Linked DNA regions of Homo sapiens: region 1 is linked to region 2. Evidence: promoter capture Hi-C in human tissues and cell types (Jung and others, 2019). All regions are on one chromosome and are shown on one strand. Each heading gives the region's core, a stretch centred on a gene start or on the middle of the fragment in contact. The rest is flanking DNA. Distances are from core to core; before and after follow the strand shown. Region 1 overlaps PKNOX1 (PBX/knotted 1 homeobox 1). Region 2 holds the start of U2AF1 (U2 small nuclear RNA auxiliary factor 1).

Region 1 (7,297 bases), core at 1,268-3,767, 75 kb after region 2:
TGTACTAAGAATTTTTTTTTTTTTTGAGACAGAGTCTCGCTCTATGCCCCAGGCTGGAGTGCAGTGGGACAATCTCAGCTCACTGCAACCTCCGCCTCCCGGATTCAAGAGATTCTCCTGCCTCAGCTTCCCGAGTAGCTGGGATTACAGGTGCCTGCCACCATGCCTGGCTAATTTTTGTGTTTGTAGTAGAGATGGGGTTTCACCATGTTGGCCAGACTGATCTCAAACTCCTGACCTCAGGTGATCCGCCCACCCTGGCCTCACAAAGTGCTGGGATTACAGGCGGGAGCCACCGCGCCCGGCCTTGTACTAAGAATTTCTTCTGAGAGTATACATAATAGAATGGCATGAAAGCTAAAAACAGTAGACATTGTTTATGACATTCATATAATTCAAAAACTGTGAAACACTAAATATTTAATCCAAATATTTCTTATTTTCTGGATTTGCTAGACCATTACTCACTTCCTCATCAGTCTTTAGATGGAGAGATAGAATCTTATTAGTCATAAACATCATTGTAAGGCTAGAATAAACCTTATAAGCCAGTTCTTCCTTTTCATAAATGAAGCCCTGGAAGCCTAGAGAGACTGGGGCTGCCTGAGGCCCCACATTAATAAAGTTCATGCCCGTCCTCTCACCTCTGAACTAAGGGAGCTGGAAATACAACACAGTGCCTCAGTTTTCTGTAACCAATGAAAACATTGCTTGAAACAATACAGTCAGCTGTCACTACTAATTACCAACAAGACTCATAATTTTGCATGTGGTTTTTAAAATACTAAGTCTGCTGACTTTAGCCTCTAAGCATGAACAGTTGTTGGGAGTTATAACACTCTGGACAACAAAGATTAAAAACCCTCTGAAATTGTTTTAATGTACCTTTTAAATCTTCAGGAACTTTCTTGTCATGAAAATTTATAATATGAACTATGAAAGGGATTATGTTAGCTTACTGATGAATCATTATCTTCTTGTAACTATCAAAATAATTAGATTTGTGGAAAACTATAATAAAAAACATAAAAGCTACCTGTTTCCATTTTCTGCCTGAACAGCCAATGAATGAACAAAGTAAGGAATTTAAGAAAAGATTCTTGGACATGTAAATGGACCTGACTAGTCCGATGCAGTGTGGTCCTAGTTTCTCAATATGCAGGGGTGACTACAGACCCTACATGTCACCAGAAAACATGAAAACATTCTCAATGTTTTACATAAAATGGAGAAGCAGCTTTTGGTGACATGAGCTTTATAAAATAAAACATCCATAAAGCAAGTTTCTATTTTTAATTTTTTTGCTTTGATAAATCAATTGCTTCACAAAAATCCTTTTTAAAGACAACAATCCAAGAAAACATATTGTTACAGTATTCACATTTCAAAGATTGTCAGTTTCAAAGACCGAATATAACTAGAACGAAAGATTGCTGAGTTCTTTCTGTCTCTAAGTGCCAGGAATGGGCCTTCACAAGGGGCAGAACCCCCTCTGGACACCCTGGAGTTTGTCTCAATGAAAAGTGCCCACTGCTACCTCACACAGGCAGGAGATGGATCACTCTCAGGTCACACAGACACAACTCCCAGAGCCCTTAGCCGTGAGGGTTTCTTTTGCATGCTCGATAAACACTTCCACTCATCTTACTATCTGGAATCAAAGCGCAAAGGCCAAGCTAGTCCCTCGGTGGGAGCGAGCTGGAACCCAGCACAGCCAGCCCTGCCACTCCTGCTCCACAGGTGCAGGGCAGGAATAACAGCAACATGCTCAATTTGGGTCTCAAGACACATTCAAAAGGAGCCTTCATAGGGAAAAACTCAACAAGAATAAAACTGGAACCGAATCTGATCATTTAAAACGAAATCTTAGAGGGGGTCACACTTTTACAGATTCTCTCCACTGTCCAAGGGCTGGAGAACAGGTGTTTTAAGGTGCCAACTGACCTCAAACATGCTGGGCAGTGATTTTGCAAACTGAAACAGCTTGCCATGTAGAAGCTAGTTAAAAGCACCCATTGCAGAGAGGTTAAAGGAAACTCAGGCTATGTCCATAAGCACCCTTTCTCTAAGTGATCTTTATCCTATTCCTCTGAATTTAGTAAGAATTTAGGAAAGTTGAAGAAAGTTTGCAGCTGGAGAGAATGCACACTGTATCATTCAGCATGGGTGTTTAACTCTCAGGCCAGAGCTTCCCAGTGCCACCGAGGTTCAGGCAGTGCTCTCTTTTTATAGATGGGGGTCTCACTGTGTTGCCCAAGATGGAGTGCAGTGGCTATTCACAGGTGCAAGCATAGTGCACTGCAGCCTCAAACTCCTGGCACATGCCATCCTCTGCCTCAGACTCCCGAGTAGCTGGAACTAGAGGCACGCCCTACTGCGCCGGGCAGGGGCAGCACTCTTAAATTCAATCCACTGCTTAGTGAATGTGATTTCTAGTGGGGGAAAGAAACGGTGACCTATACATGAGTCTACATTCTGTGAATGGCTTCCACTAATCTACACTAAAGAGCAAGCAGCCGAAGAGACGGAGGGTGGTGAGGGAAGGAGGAAGGGCTGGCTGGCTTTCATGGGTGCTTATTTTAAGGAGTCCAACAAAGTTGGAACTTAGGTTAAAAATGATCTTATAGACTTGACTTAAAATATGAGAAGACAGTTCACAAATGAGGAACGCAATGGTGGCTTTAAGATGTCATTCTCGGCCGGGCGCGGTGGCTCACACCTGTAATCCCAGCACTTTGGGAGGCTGAGGCAGGCAGATCACCTGAGGTCGGGAGTTCGAGACCAGCCCGACCAACATGGAGAAACCCATCTCTACTAAAAATACAAAATTAGCCGGGTGTGGTGGCGCATGCCTGTAATCCCAGCTACTCAGGAGGCTAAGGAAGGAGAATTGCTTGAACATAAGAGGTGGAGGTTGCAGTGAGCTGAGATTGCACCATTGCCCTCCAGCCTGGGCAACAAGAGCAAAACTCTGTCTCAAAAAAAAAATGTCATTCTCTCCCCAAAAGACTTGATAACCAAGTCTTTCAGTAAAGCTCCTGAAAGATTTTAAAACAAATTTCTGTGTGTTTCCCACTGACTTCTTAACCTCAATTAATATATTCTTTTGGGAAAAATCAATTCCAGAAAAAACTCTTCACTAGCTTAAAATGTCCCTTGGCTTACAACCAATCATTACTGTTGACTCTCAAGAACTGAAGACATTCCCGACCCTGTAAACAAATGAACTTCAGCCATACCATTTCAGATGATATGAAGACATTCTGTATGAAACACCGTGGCCTGTTTTCTGAGAAAAAGCACCACTCCTAAGTAAACAATGAAAACAAATCAAAACCAAAGAAAACAGAACCCAGCCCACTCTCTCGGTTCATCTTGTTACCAGGAAACAGAAGTCCTACAGTTATTCCAAATCTCACGTGGTCAAGTGAGCAGGAGGGCTCTGAAAAGTCGAAAGCAACAACGTACAAGAGAACACTGACACCAGGAGACCAGCCACAAACGCAAACGTAGGAGCCAACCCGTGGGGGCTGCCGAGGTGCCCTCGCCAGACCAGCTCGCTGCTGGGACTCCAGGGATGTCCGCTAGTTAAGTAATAAAGTCTGAATATCTGCTGTTTGCCCTAGCTCTGAGCCAATGGGGTAGAGCACATTTTATATTAGTTTATAATAAACATTCTGTGCATAACATATTTTGAAGTTAAAACTTTTAAAACAATACACAGCTAACATGGTAAAGCGACCATGCAACTGTGGTCAGATTTAAATTAGACTGGAGTATGTACGGTGAGAGCTCCTAACGGGTCACTGGCTACCATTTCACCTCACTTACCTGAAGTCCTGTTTAGCAGATATCTTTCGATATATGTTTAGATCAAGTGTAAAATGCAATCTGAGCATTACATATCAACAAAAATTTGCAGATATCAAAATTTCATTAAATAGCTGTTTCTTTTATAGTAGTAAATGTTCATCACTACCCGGGGAGAGCAAAGAACCATGGAACGGTAGCTAACTTTGGGCAGGTTCATTAAATTTGGTCAATTCAGAACATTCCAAATTGAAATATTAATAGCAAGCATGTATTGTTTCTTCTCTAGAAATTTTATCCTCAATATAGTCATCATCCAATTCATAACGAATTTATAAAAATAGCTTTTTTATCCAATAATTCCAGCAAGGTAAAAATAGGAGTTTCTTTTTCTATATAGCAAATGAAACAGGCTCACTGAACATGAGGGGACTTAGGCTTGCTAAGCTTGCCGTCCATCCACTCACGACGAAACCACACTCAGTCTAGGCGTGTGCCGTTGTCACCGCACACTGGCAGTTTCGGGTGCAGCAGCTTCTTTCAAATCCATGGGCCACACAAATCAACCAGCCCACTGAGATCTGCTGGAACCACAGAACTAAGTGACAACCGCATCACGGTTTAGAAAATGGCAGCGCTATTCCTTAATCTAATTAGGGATTCAAGGTGGGGAGGGAGTGGTGTGTCATTCCTCACAATCTAGCGTTAAACCTTTAAAGAATTTCTTTAAAAATCCACACACACGCACACACGCACACACACACACACACACACACACACACACACTTGAAAGAAGTCGCTGCACCGGCAAAGACGCGCTTTAAGCTTACTATGAAATACAAAAGTGCACTCTTCTATATCTACATATAAAACATATTAGAAATAAAACTGTGTAAAATGTTTGCTGTGCAAACTCCAAAAAGTCAGGTGCGTCTGCTCCTGCCCCTACTGCAGGGAGTCACTGTTCTCCAAGACCAGCCCGCTGATGTGGGCAGGGGCCAGGGCACCCGCATCCTCCTCTGTGCTGTCCACAGACTCGTCCTCGCTCTGCCCTGCCATCATGACCTGCTGCACCGCCAGGGTGGCCCCGTCCGAGGACAGAGACTGAAGGCTGTCCACGTTCATGTTCACGGGCGTGGTGATGGTGACAACAGCTCCTGCGGCAGGATGAAGGTGTGTCATTATTTAAATTAGTACTCACAGAAAAACACTTTATTACTCAATTGGGTGCTGTTTGCTCGTTTGACCTAAAGTTAAAATAAAACACCTATATATGTTTAGGGAATGTTCAACAGGGATTTAAGAAACTGTTTCTGGGCCGGGCGCGGTAGCTCATGCCTGTAATCCCAGCACTTTGGGAGGCTGAGGCAGGCGGATAACGAGGTCAGGAGATCAAGACCATCCTGGTGAACACGGTGAAACCCCGTCTCTACTAAAAATACAAAAAATTAGCCGGGCGTGGTGGCAGGCACCTGTAGCTACTCCGAGCTACTCGGGAGGCTGAGGCAGGAGAATGGCGGGAACCTGGTAGGCAGAGGTTTCAGTGAGCCGAGATTGCGCCATTGCACTCCAGCCTGGGCAACAGAGTGAGACTCTGTCTCAAAAAAAAAAAAAAAAAAAAACAAAGCAAACAAATAAAAAAAAATAAAAACACATGCACACAAAACCATCCAAAATATGAAGACCTCATGCGAACAGAAAGATGCCTATAAAACACATCAGAATGGCTGCCTACGTCAGGGGATGGAGAGCAGAGGCCACAGGGAACAAGCAAAAACAAGAGAAGGGCATGGGGGATGAAGAGAAAGAAGCCACGTGGTGAGAACGGGGTAAGTCCCTCCTCCACACCCGGCGTCGGAGGGAAAAGGAGAGCAAACACAGAAGCAAAGGAGAAGATCCATGGGCATGACTGTGTCTTTGAGACAGAATTAATGATTTCATATCTCTATCACGTGTTTTACATTCTCTACTACTGGTGCTCCTAACTCTTACTGAGAGCTCCCGTGCACGCAGAATGCAGCTTCCTCATGTTTTAGTTGCAGAGAAAGAGAACCACGCACTCTCGTTCACCACATTACCTGAGGCTCACAGCTAACAGGCCTGATCCAGGCCTCTTGTTCATAATCCCCACCCCATGGTCCACCATGTCTGGCCTTGGCCGGCCACCTGTACCTTCCGACATGGTGAGCTCGCTCGGCGGTGGCTGTGCGACTCCTGATGCAATAGAATCAGGCCAAAACCTCTGAACTGGCCGGTTCTGAGCAGTTTTTTTCTTTGTTTTGGGGGTCTCTGAACAACTTGAATCCAACATTGGCTGAAGAATTCGTCTTCTGGCATTGATGAACCTGGAGTCAACAAAGAGAAGCTTCCATGAAAACAGCCTTCGTAAAGACCCTATACAGGATTAACAAATCCTTCTAACAAACACGCTGCTCTACGAAGCACGCTACAAAGAATGACTCAAGTTCTCCACTATAGTAACTACTTAAGAGGACTCAACAGCTCTTCTGAATTCTCTAAATGCCCAGAAACACAGAGCCTGTTGTTTTAAAAATCATGCAAATAAGCACCAACTCGTCCATGGCATTTTTTTTTTTGTCTCAACTCCTTTAGGGCATGTTTGTGAACTAGATACTCATAACGACATAGATGATACTGTTGAATTTGTGAATCTGACACTGTTTTCCCTAAGGAAGAAAAATGTTAAAGAAGCAAGACTTTCTGTAGTGCCATCATGCCTGAGACGATCGGGCAGTCTGCACTCGTCTGGACGTCACCAGATCACCAACGGGGCCGAGCCTCTGGGTGGCAACGTGTCTGAGCCATCAGAGAATGGGACTGCCACCTCCTCTTGTTTCACCACAAAGCACGATCTAAGGCAAGAGCTGCATCTTTTCAAAAACCATTCCCAATGATGAGCTGTTTCTTAGATGACTGGAGGCGTAAGTCCTCCAGTGGTCCTAGACATGTGGCCAGCACAGCACGTAGGCACCAGCAGTGATGAAATCCCCGACAGACGCTGGCGACTCTGTCAGACCAGGCACTCACGCCTGTGATAAGACTCCACAGAGAACGAGAGCAGCAACAATCACAGGCTGGCAGGGCAGGCTGGACATTGTTTCTGTATTTTTGAGATGGAGTCTCGCCCTGTCGCACAGGCTGGAGTGCAGTGGCACGATCTCAGCTCACCGCAACCTCCGCCTCCTGGGTTTAAGCGATTCTGCTGCCTCAGCCTCCTGAGTAGGTGGGACTATAGGCGCCCACCACCTCGCCCAGCTCATTTTTGTATTTTTAGTAAACGGGGTTACACCATGTTGGCCAAGATGGTCTCGATCTCTTCACCTTGTGATCTGCCTGCCTTGGTCTCCGAAAGTGCTGGGATTACAGATGTGAGCCACTGCACCTGGCCCAACAGTCACAGGTTGGCAAGGCAGGCTGGACATTGTTTCATATCAAATGAGTATGATAGCAATCTCAAAATACATTA
Region 2 (7,476 bases), core at 1,477-3,976:
TCAGTTCTAACCCTATCAAATTATTAGTGTGTAAGTCTCAATCTTCAACTAAGCTGGGAGGATTCAGATCCCAAGACTGGCCTTACCAGAGACCCCTGCCAGCCCCAGTGAGGTCGAGTAAACAACAGTCGTTTGTGCTGGTACCAAGGCTCCAACTATTGATGCCACTACTTAGTGGCAATCCCTGAAGGCCTGCTTCAGGTCCTATCTGGGTTGCCAAAATGTCAACCTCAAATAATGAAATTCAGGAAATATGATTAAGTATAGAGTTTATTTGAGCCCAAAGCTTGAGGATGGCTCCCTGGGCACATGCCCCTAGGTTGCCCTGAACATATGTTCCCATTAGCAGCAGTCACAGTGGGGTTTTAAGGAAAAGGAAGAGGCAGTCCCTAAGTTGTTAGCAAGAATTTGCATTAAAATAACAGAAGGTGCTGATTGGCTATGCATCGTTCTTAGCATCACTAATTCCATGTGAACAAGAAGATAATGGGTGAGGCAGCCTGTCAGGAGCAAAAATTCCATCAAACAATTGCCCTGGACAGTTGCTTCTATGGTGGAAGAGGCGCTGAATGAAGTCCCACACTCCTGCCTCTCTGGGCCTGATCATTCTGCACACCTCACAGAGCTCAGACTACCCTATTTTTCTTTTCTCAGGAAAAATGGGTGGATGGTACTGGTGGCCCTGCCTGGTCTGATCATCTACCCTGGTTCTAGTAACCAGATTAATTCCTTGTAATAGAGCTGTGGATTTCAGTTCAGTTCCCACGCACAGACCTTACCTCTGCTTTCTCCGACCACTTCTCCCCCACCCCAGGTACTTCACAGCTGAGAGCCTCTTGCCAGCTTCCAACTCTCCAGCAGTCTTTGTTCCCAGACCGTGTCCTGAGGCTGCACTTTCTGGACATGCCCACCTGCTGGACTGGCATCTGTCTTGTCACTTCTCTGGCCTCACCTCTGCGAAAGGAACACAAAAGTCAGGACCCCAGTTCACTCTGTCAAAAGGAAAAGAATGAGCTGAAAGCTGAGTCATGTAAGCAGCTGCCTTTCCTTTCGTTCCTAAGCAGACGGCTACAGATAGAAGGTTCAACATCCGCTTCTCTTATGTAAAGTGCTGATTTGCTGAGGAGTGAGCTGTACACAGTCGACTGTTCCCAACCTGCTTCTTTTCTCTTGCAACGTGTGGATTACCACACTGTTCCGCTTTCCCCTCCAGCCCACTTTTCCCCTTTAAATACTGAAGCCCTCAAAGTCATCTTTGGAGAAAGGCACAGACCACAGACTGTTTCTGTGATACCGTGTTTTTTTTCCTCCCAGGCATTGTCCTTAACCTTGGCAAAATAAACTTCTAAATTGATTGAGCCCTGTCTCAAGATACTTTTTGGTTTAAACCTCTGAGGCCCTACTGTTTCTAATACAGGTTTCCAGTTTGCTCATCTTTCCCAGGTAGGAAGATGCTCTGTTGCCAAGAGAAATGCAATTCTAACACGCAAATCCGCCCAAACACTAGAGCTCAGCATTCAGCTCTAGCCGAGCTAAGAGGATCCCATGGTCCTGCCCCACAGTCTGGGGCTCATCTTGTGGAGGAGGTAAGTAAAATAGGCCCTGTCTCTCTGACTTCTACCTAATCAGAGTTGATAGTTGCGTTGGAAATTAGGTAAATCGCAGGTGAGTTGATGAATGTGGGAAACCAGATGAAAATGGCTGCTTGATGGGGTTAAAACGCAGGAGAGGAATAGAACCCTTCCAACGGAATGGTTCCAGCCTTGTGACATGAGGAGACTGAAAGGGTATCCCAGAGGCAGGTCACTGGCCTTCCAGCTCCACCTGTGGGTGGCCTTGGCCAGGCAACTGCAAGAGTGCAGGGCCCCGGGGAGGTCGCACCTGGCAAGCGCTGAGGGAGGGTAAAGCGGAGAGGGGTGTGAGAAGAGAAAAACAACACAGAGCGTCCGAGCTATGTGAGGCGTGCGAGGTTAATCCGGCCCGGAGAGACAGGTCTATGCGGCTTCAGCGGTCCCCACCCATGCCTGGCAATTGTTTAAAGGCACTATTGCTCCGGACCCGCTGCCTTCACCCATGAACTTCCTTTCCTGGAATTATGATATAAAGAACAACGTACAGCCAATTAATAGCTTGTTATTTTCATGTAAATTCTTGGTGAGCTATTTAAGAACTGCCCCCCTCTTAAGCTTTATAAACCCACTTGTCACTGTTGCAAATCCTATGTTCAGGGCAACTTGAAGCTATGCTCCCGGGTTGCAATCTTCAAACTTGGCCCAAATAACCTCTCTACTTATATCAAGTTTGCCTCAGCTTTTTTTTTCTTCTAGGTCGACGGTTCCCGCCCCGCAAGGGTGCAGGGAAGGGGACGCCCGCACTTCCTAGTGCTCCCTTAGCTGGGGTCGAGCTGAGCGCCCCCCACCGAGCCCCAGGCGGCTCTGTGGAGAAGCCCCTCGGCCCCGGGTTCGGTCTGCACTGCCAGCCCCCAGTCCCCGGCGCGCAGGATCCAGCAGGGCCAGCGCCGGGCGGGCGAGAAGGCGAGAGAGCTAGGGCCGGGCGGGGAGGGCACCGGCAGGGGGCGCGGGTTCCCAGGACCGAAAAGGCGGAGCCTCCCACGCGCACTACGTGCTCCCTACGCGCATGCGTCCCGCCCACGCGCAGGCAGCACCTCGCCTGACTGGGTAGCGCTGCCACGTCGGGGCGGGGAAGAGCGTCGTCGCGTCCGGGTGACGTCTCCCGAGGGCGTCGGCAGGGTCGGCGGCGTCGGCAGCAGTGTCGACGGCAGCGGCGGCGGCGGGTGGGAAATGGCGGAGTATCTGGCCTCCATCTTCGGCACCGAGAAAGACAAGTGAGTGGGAGCCCCCCGCCGGGGGTTGGGCGCGATCGGGGCGCAGGGTGGTTGAGGCGGTGGGAGGGCGACCGGGGAGGCCCAGGCGGGCCGGCGCGGCGGTGGCGGGGGAGGGGCGCGCGGCGGGAAGGAGCGGTGGCCCTTCCGGCCCCTTGCGCGCCCTCCGGAGCCGCCGCCTCGTGGGCCGCGCGGCGGAAAACTGGAGCGGGCAGAATGAATGGGGTCTCTTTTCGGGGCGCCGCGGCCGAGCTTTCTCCGGCCTTGGGGTCCGGACTGGCTGATCGCCCGACGTCCGGGCCTCCGAGTCGCCGACTCCCGGAAGCCGCCTCGAGCCGCGCTGAAAGTTGCCTGGAGCATCCGGGCCTTTTGGACGTGGACACGTTTGTTCCAACTTTCGGCTGTGAATGTCCTGTCGAGCAAGCTCTGGTACCAGCCTCGCCAGTATTCAGTCGCTTATCTAACTTAGGGTCCTAAGCGTTGGTGTTTTATCCACTTAGCCAGCCTCTTGCCTGTTTAAGCGACCGCTGGGCCGGCAGTAAGGAGATATGACGAGAAAAAGTATGGTGGAGACTACTGGATTAACTATCTAACCACAAGAGACGTGATCCGCTCTTAACATACAGGTGCTCCTGGATTTACCATGGGATTGCGTTCCGATAAACCCATCATGAATCGAAAATGCCTTTAATACCCCGATAAACCCATCATCTAAGTTGAAAATTTGTAAGTCGGTGACTGTTCTTGAAGACACAATTCTGATATAAGGAAAAAGATGTTTTGATTTTTTCCTTAAGGTTGCATGCCTTCCCTAATCAATCGTTAGGTTAAAAGCAAAACATTTAATTTCAGCTTTAATTGCCACCTTGGCACGTACTAATTTCCAGTGAGTTGGCTGTAGTTTAGACTAAATGGAATGTTTTCAGACGTTTGAAGGATAATTCTTACTTTGAAAACCTAAAGACTCAGCATCTGGCTTAATCTACTCTTTAGTTATCTTGGCATTCTTCAGTGCCATACAAAGTTAACATGACTTTATGTTTTCAATGATAAACCCCTAAGTTTGTCATAGATGTTTTTAATGCCACTTTTTTCAAACGCTATTTAAAATGTTTCTCTTTTCCAGGATGGAGTCTATCTTGTAAAATGTCCTCTTCACACATGGTAGAATCTCCTGTGTTGTTTGGATGAGGAGGCTATATTTCTAGCAAAATTTTAAGCCAAAATCTACCAGTTATAGTCACTCCAGAAACATTTAGTGGGGGTCAACTATAGGTCAGTTTCTGGAGACTTAAACATGGGTAAAATTTGGATATTATCCTTAAGGAACTCACGGTATGATCTTGGCGAATGAATAGACCAGCTCTATCGGAACAAGAGACTCTTCTGAGTTTAGGGTGAAGAACTAACACATGTAGGATCGGGGCATCATTAATTTCTCCTTTTCATATTTGCATGTGGCATGACTTCTGTCTTGTAAAAGTCTATCTCCCTATATTTCTGCTATAAGCAACCACATTTCAATCTATTGGGCTATACTATAAAGGTCATGGTTTTAATTCAGAAAAGTTGATTATTTAATCTAGGTTACTTGTGTTTTCTTTTCAGGGAGACGTGGGGTTTTAGCTTCCAGGGAACAGGATCAACTCCTGAAAAATGAAGCTGATGGTTCATATTAACTTTAATTATTATTTAAGCTAAGAATAAAATATAGATCTCTACCAATTAAAAAATGTTTAGCTTATTATATGTTTGAAGTTATAGATGTTTTCTAGATTCAGGGATATCCTAATAGCTTGTCTGTAGTTTAATTGTGTGGAATAATTGGATATTAATTGTTGAGGCCCAGGGCTTGCCCATTCTGAGGTAGTTTTTAAATAAGCTTTCTTTATTTTTAGATGACTTCCTAAAGATATGCTATTGTCTAATCAAGTTAAATAATCTCAAGACCTGTAAGTTTGCAAATATATATAATCACTTTCCTCTCCTGATAAATTTGGACTTTCCCATCTTTATTGCTACCTGATAATAAATCAGTGGCTAGTCAGTCTTCATGGTCCATTAGATTTCACTGAGGTTGAGGCCCTTCAATCTTAACTCTGGATTGACTGTTTAAAACATAATGGCACTTGGTTAAAAAAAAATTGAATTTTGAACAAAGTCTGTCTGGTAAGATGTCCTAATTCATCAGAGATCGGCTTCCCTCCCTGACATTGCTGGCACACAGGCATGATTGCTGGTTCCATTGGATATGGATCTGGATTGTCAGCGTATTTGAACAGTATTAAGGGAGGGTTTTGCAGTAGAGACAGAAGGTGACGTAAGGTGGTTCCTAAGGTGGGTTCGGTCAGTCCCCTAATAGTTTGTTTTCAGTGTATTGAGACCAGGAGAATTGATTTACTTCAGACCTATTTTTTGAAACTCCCTGTTGGTCTGGTGTCATGCGTTTAGAGAGACTCTGAACTTCGTTTTCTGTTTTCCTTAGATAATGATAGCACTTCATGAGCACCATATGTGAAGCACACATACGTTCTGTCTGACTCTCAGAACAGTGCCACATTGGCATTGTCATCATTTACAGATGACATCTGAGAGCTAGGGTGACTTGCCCAAGCCCAAGCAGCTGGTAGCAGAGTTGGGATCTTAACCCTCACCACACCGGTGTTTTCAAGAGAGAACTTGGTCGTGGAGAACTGGAGAACAGATACTGCCTAAGTTACATTTAGTTTTAGACTAATTTAATACTCCATTTAAGAAACAAACAGAACAGCTGTGCAGTTAGGAAAGTGGAGGGGATTTGAATGAGGAGGAGGCGGGTTAGAGTTAGAACCGTCTTTGCTGAACAAGTAGTGTGTTTGCAGAAAGGGAAGTTGAAGTTACGTTGTCCTAAAATACAGCAAGGAAGAGGAGGTGCTTAATACCACGGAAAAAAGTCTGTGTCATGTTTCTGTGAGGTTAAAAGTAATTTGATAGTGTATGTCATGCTGCTGACATATTCCATGTGTTTGATATCTTCCCAGCAAAATAATCAGCTCTCATTTTCCCTTACAGAGTCAACTGTTCATTTTATTTCAAAATTGGAGCATGTCGTCATGGAGACAGGTGCTCTCGGTTGCACAATAAACCGACGTTTAGCCAGGTTTGTTTGCCTTTTTTTCATGTAAATTATAAAAACTTCATGTTCTTTTCAAAGACAGTTAATTTCTACATATTAAGCAAGTCATTTTTTCTCTCGTAGTTGTATTTTCCATTTGTGTTCATAAGTGTGTTCTTTTATTTAAATAATAGTGAGGCAGGTGATCGACTTCCAGTGGAAGGTCTGAGACCACCACTCCTTGTTTTTATCATTAGAGAAACTTTAAAAATCAGTTTTTGATGTTTGTGTGTTGGCTGTGCCTGATATTTGCTGCCCTGCCATCTTCCCTACCCCCTCTGATAGACATGGGTCCAGAGGGGGTGGCCGTGCCAGCCTTGGGTTAGCCTCCTCCAGGCACCAGTGGACACGGAGTGGGCTTTCTGCTCTTTGCTGTCTCCAGACAGTAGAGGTGATGGAGCCACCTTCCAAGTTAGCGTGATTGTCACCAGGCCCATCATGCTGCTCGAGCTTCTCTGGCTGCGTCCTCACTTTCACATCCCTAGCTGAGGAAACAGCGAGTCGCATCACGTCATGGAAACATGAAAAATTAAGCTGAAAGGTAGAAAATGGGCCGTAAATTGCTCTTAGCGGGTCTGTTTGGTTAATTGAGGAGTGCCTGTTATCTTGGGCTTAGATCCGCTCTGAGTTCAGTTCAATCAAAAGTTGTGAGTTTTGATAGTTTTATTTTTGGTTAGTTGAAGAAAAGGCAAAGGTTGGTACACTATAAAGGATCACTTACGGATTAAAGGGAGAAGGCACCTCTAATCGGAGCAGAAAACTTGTGCCCACGTTGATGAGAACATTTGAAATTTGAAAATCGATGCCCAAGTCTTTCCAGATGGAGGGCTGGGGAACTCCTTCCAACCCACCCTTGAAGTCTAAATGTGCAGCCTCTGAGCTGTTGAGTAGCTATTATGCGTGGTCCCTGGGAGCTGCCAGGCTCTGCCTTTGAGCTCACATCTGTCTGTATACGTTTTCCTGTAAGCATTTAAGAAAATCTACCACTTTGTGTAAGTGAGCTGGGAGAAGGAAACATGGGTTTTTTCCGGTTGAAGCCCATGGACGACCCCACAGCACACAGTGTTTTTAGAAGGGAAGAGGATGATGGCTTTTCCCTCCATTATGCTAATTACCAAGTGGTTAGTATAATAGCAGTCTGTCTTTTGATAGCTCTGAACATGAGTTTCTTTTTACAAATTTCAAAATCTTGGAGAACTAGCTTTACATTTTCTGTGTATTGCAATTGTTTTTTCTTTAATGTTTTGATTTATGAACCGAATCTCCCCTAACTAAACCAGTGGCCATGGATTGTGGTATAACCAAGCATCTTAAGTGACCACCCAGTTCTTTGATTTTGGGGGGTGTCCCAAGTGTTGGGCTGAGAGAAATCAACTGTTCCCTATTCTAAAAGTTTTCTTTAATCTGGCTGGAGGCACTTTCTTTATGTTTTTCTGGATCATAGATTACCTGAGAATGTGAAATGTGAAGTTAATTTAGG

Evidence for each region. The method cuts DNA at HindIII sites, captures the fragments that hold promoters and counts their contacts. A contact is called where the count stands out against the background at its distance.
Region 1: a contact is called between a fragment that was not itself captured here and the fragment with the promoter of U2AF1 in region 2, in 5 of the 25 tissues and cell types used here (H1 embryonic stem cells, bladder, mesenchymal stem cells and 2 more).

The regions. Positions count from the first base shown.
Region 1 is chr21:43,027,560-43,034,856 of GRCh38, reverse strand. PKNOX1 (PBX/knotted 1 homeobox 1) reads right to left here. Exons shown (of 11, transcript NM_004571.5): 10 at 5,983-6,155; 11 at 926-4,967. The coding sequence ends at 4,756. Among named protein-coding and RNA genes, the nearest start is that of CBS, 45 kb to the left of the region's middle. The HindIII fragment of the contact is 5,777 bases long and covers 1-5,405 here.
Region 2 is chr21:43,102,820-43,110,295 of GRCh38, reverse strand. U2AF1 (U2 small nuclear RNA auxiliary factor 1) reads left to right here and starts at 2,726. Exons shown (of 8, transcript NM_006758.3): 1 at 2,726-2,845; 2 at 5,894-5,981. The coding sequence starts at 2,802. LOC101928369 (a long non-coding RNA gene) reads right to left here and starts at 2,606. Exons shown (of 5, transcript XR_937770.3): 1 at 2,201-2,606; 2 at 780-954. The HindIII fragment of the contact is 4,947 bases long and covers 1,237-6,183 here.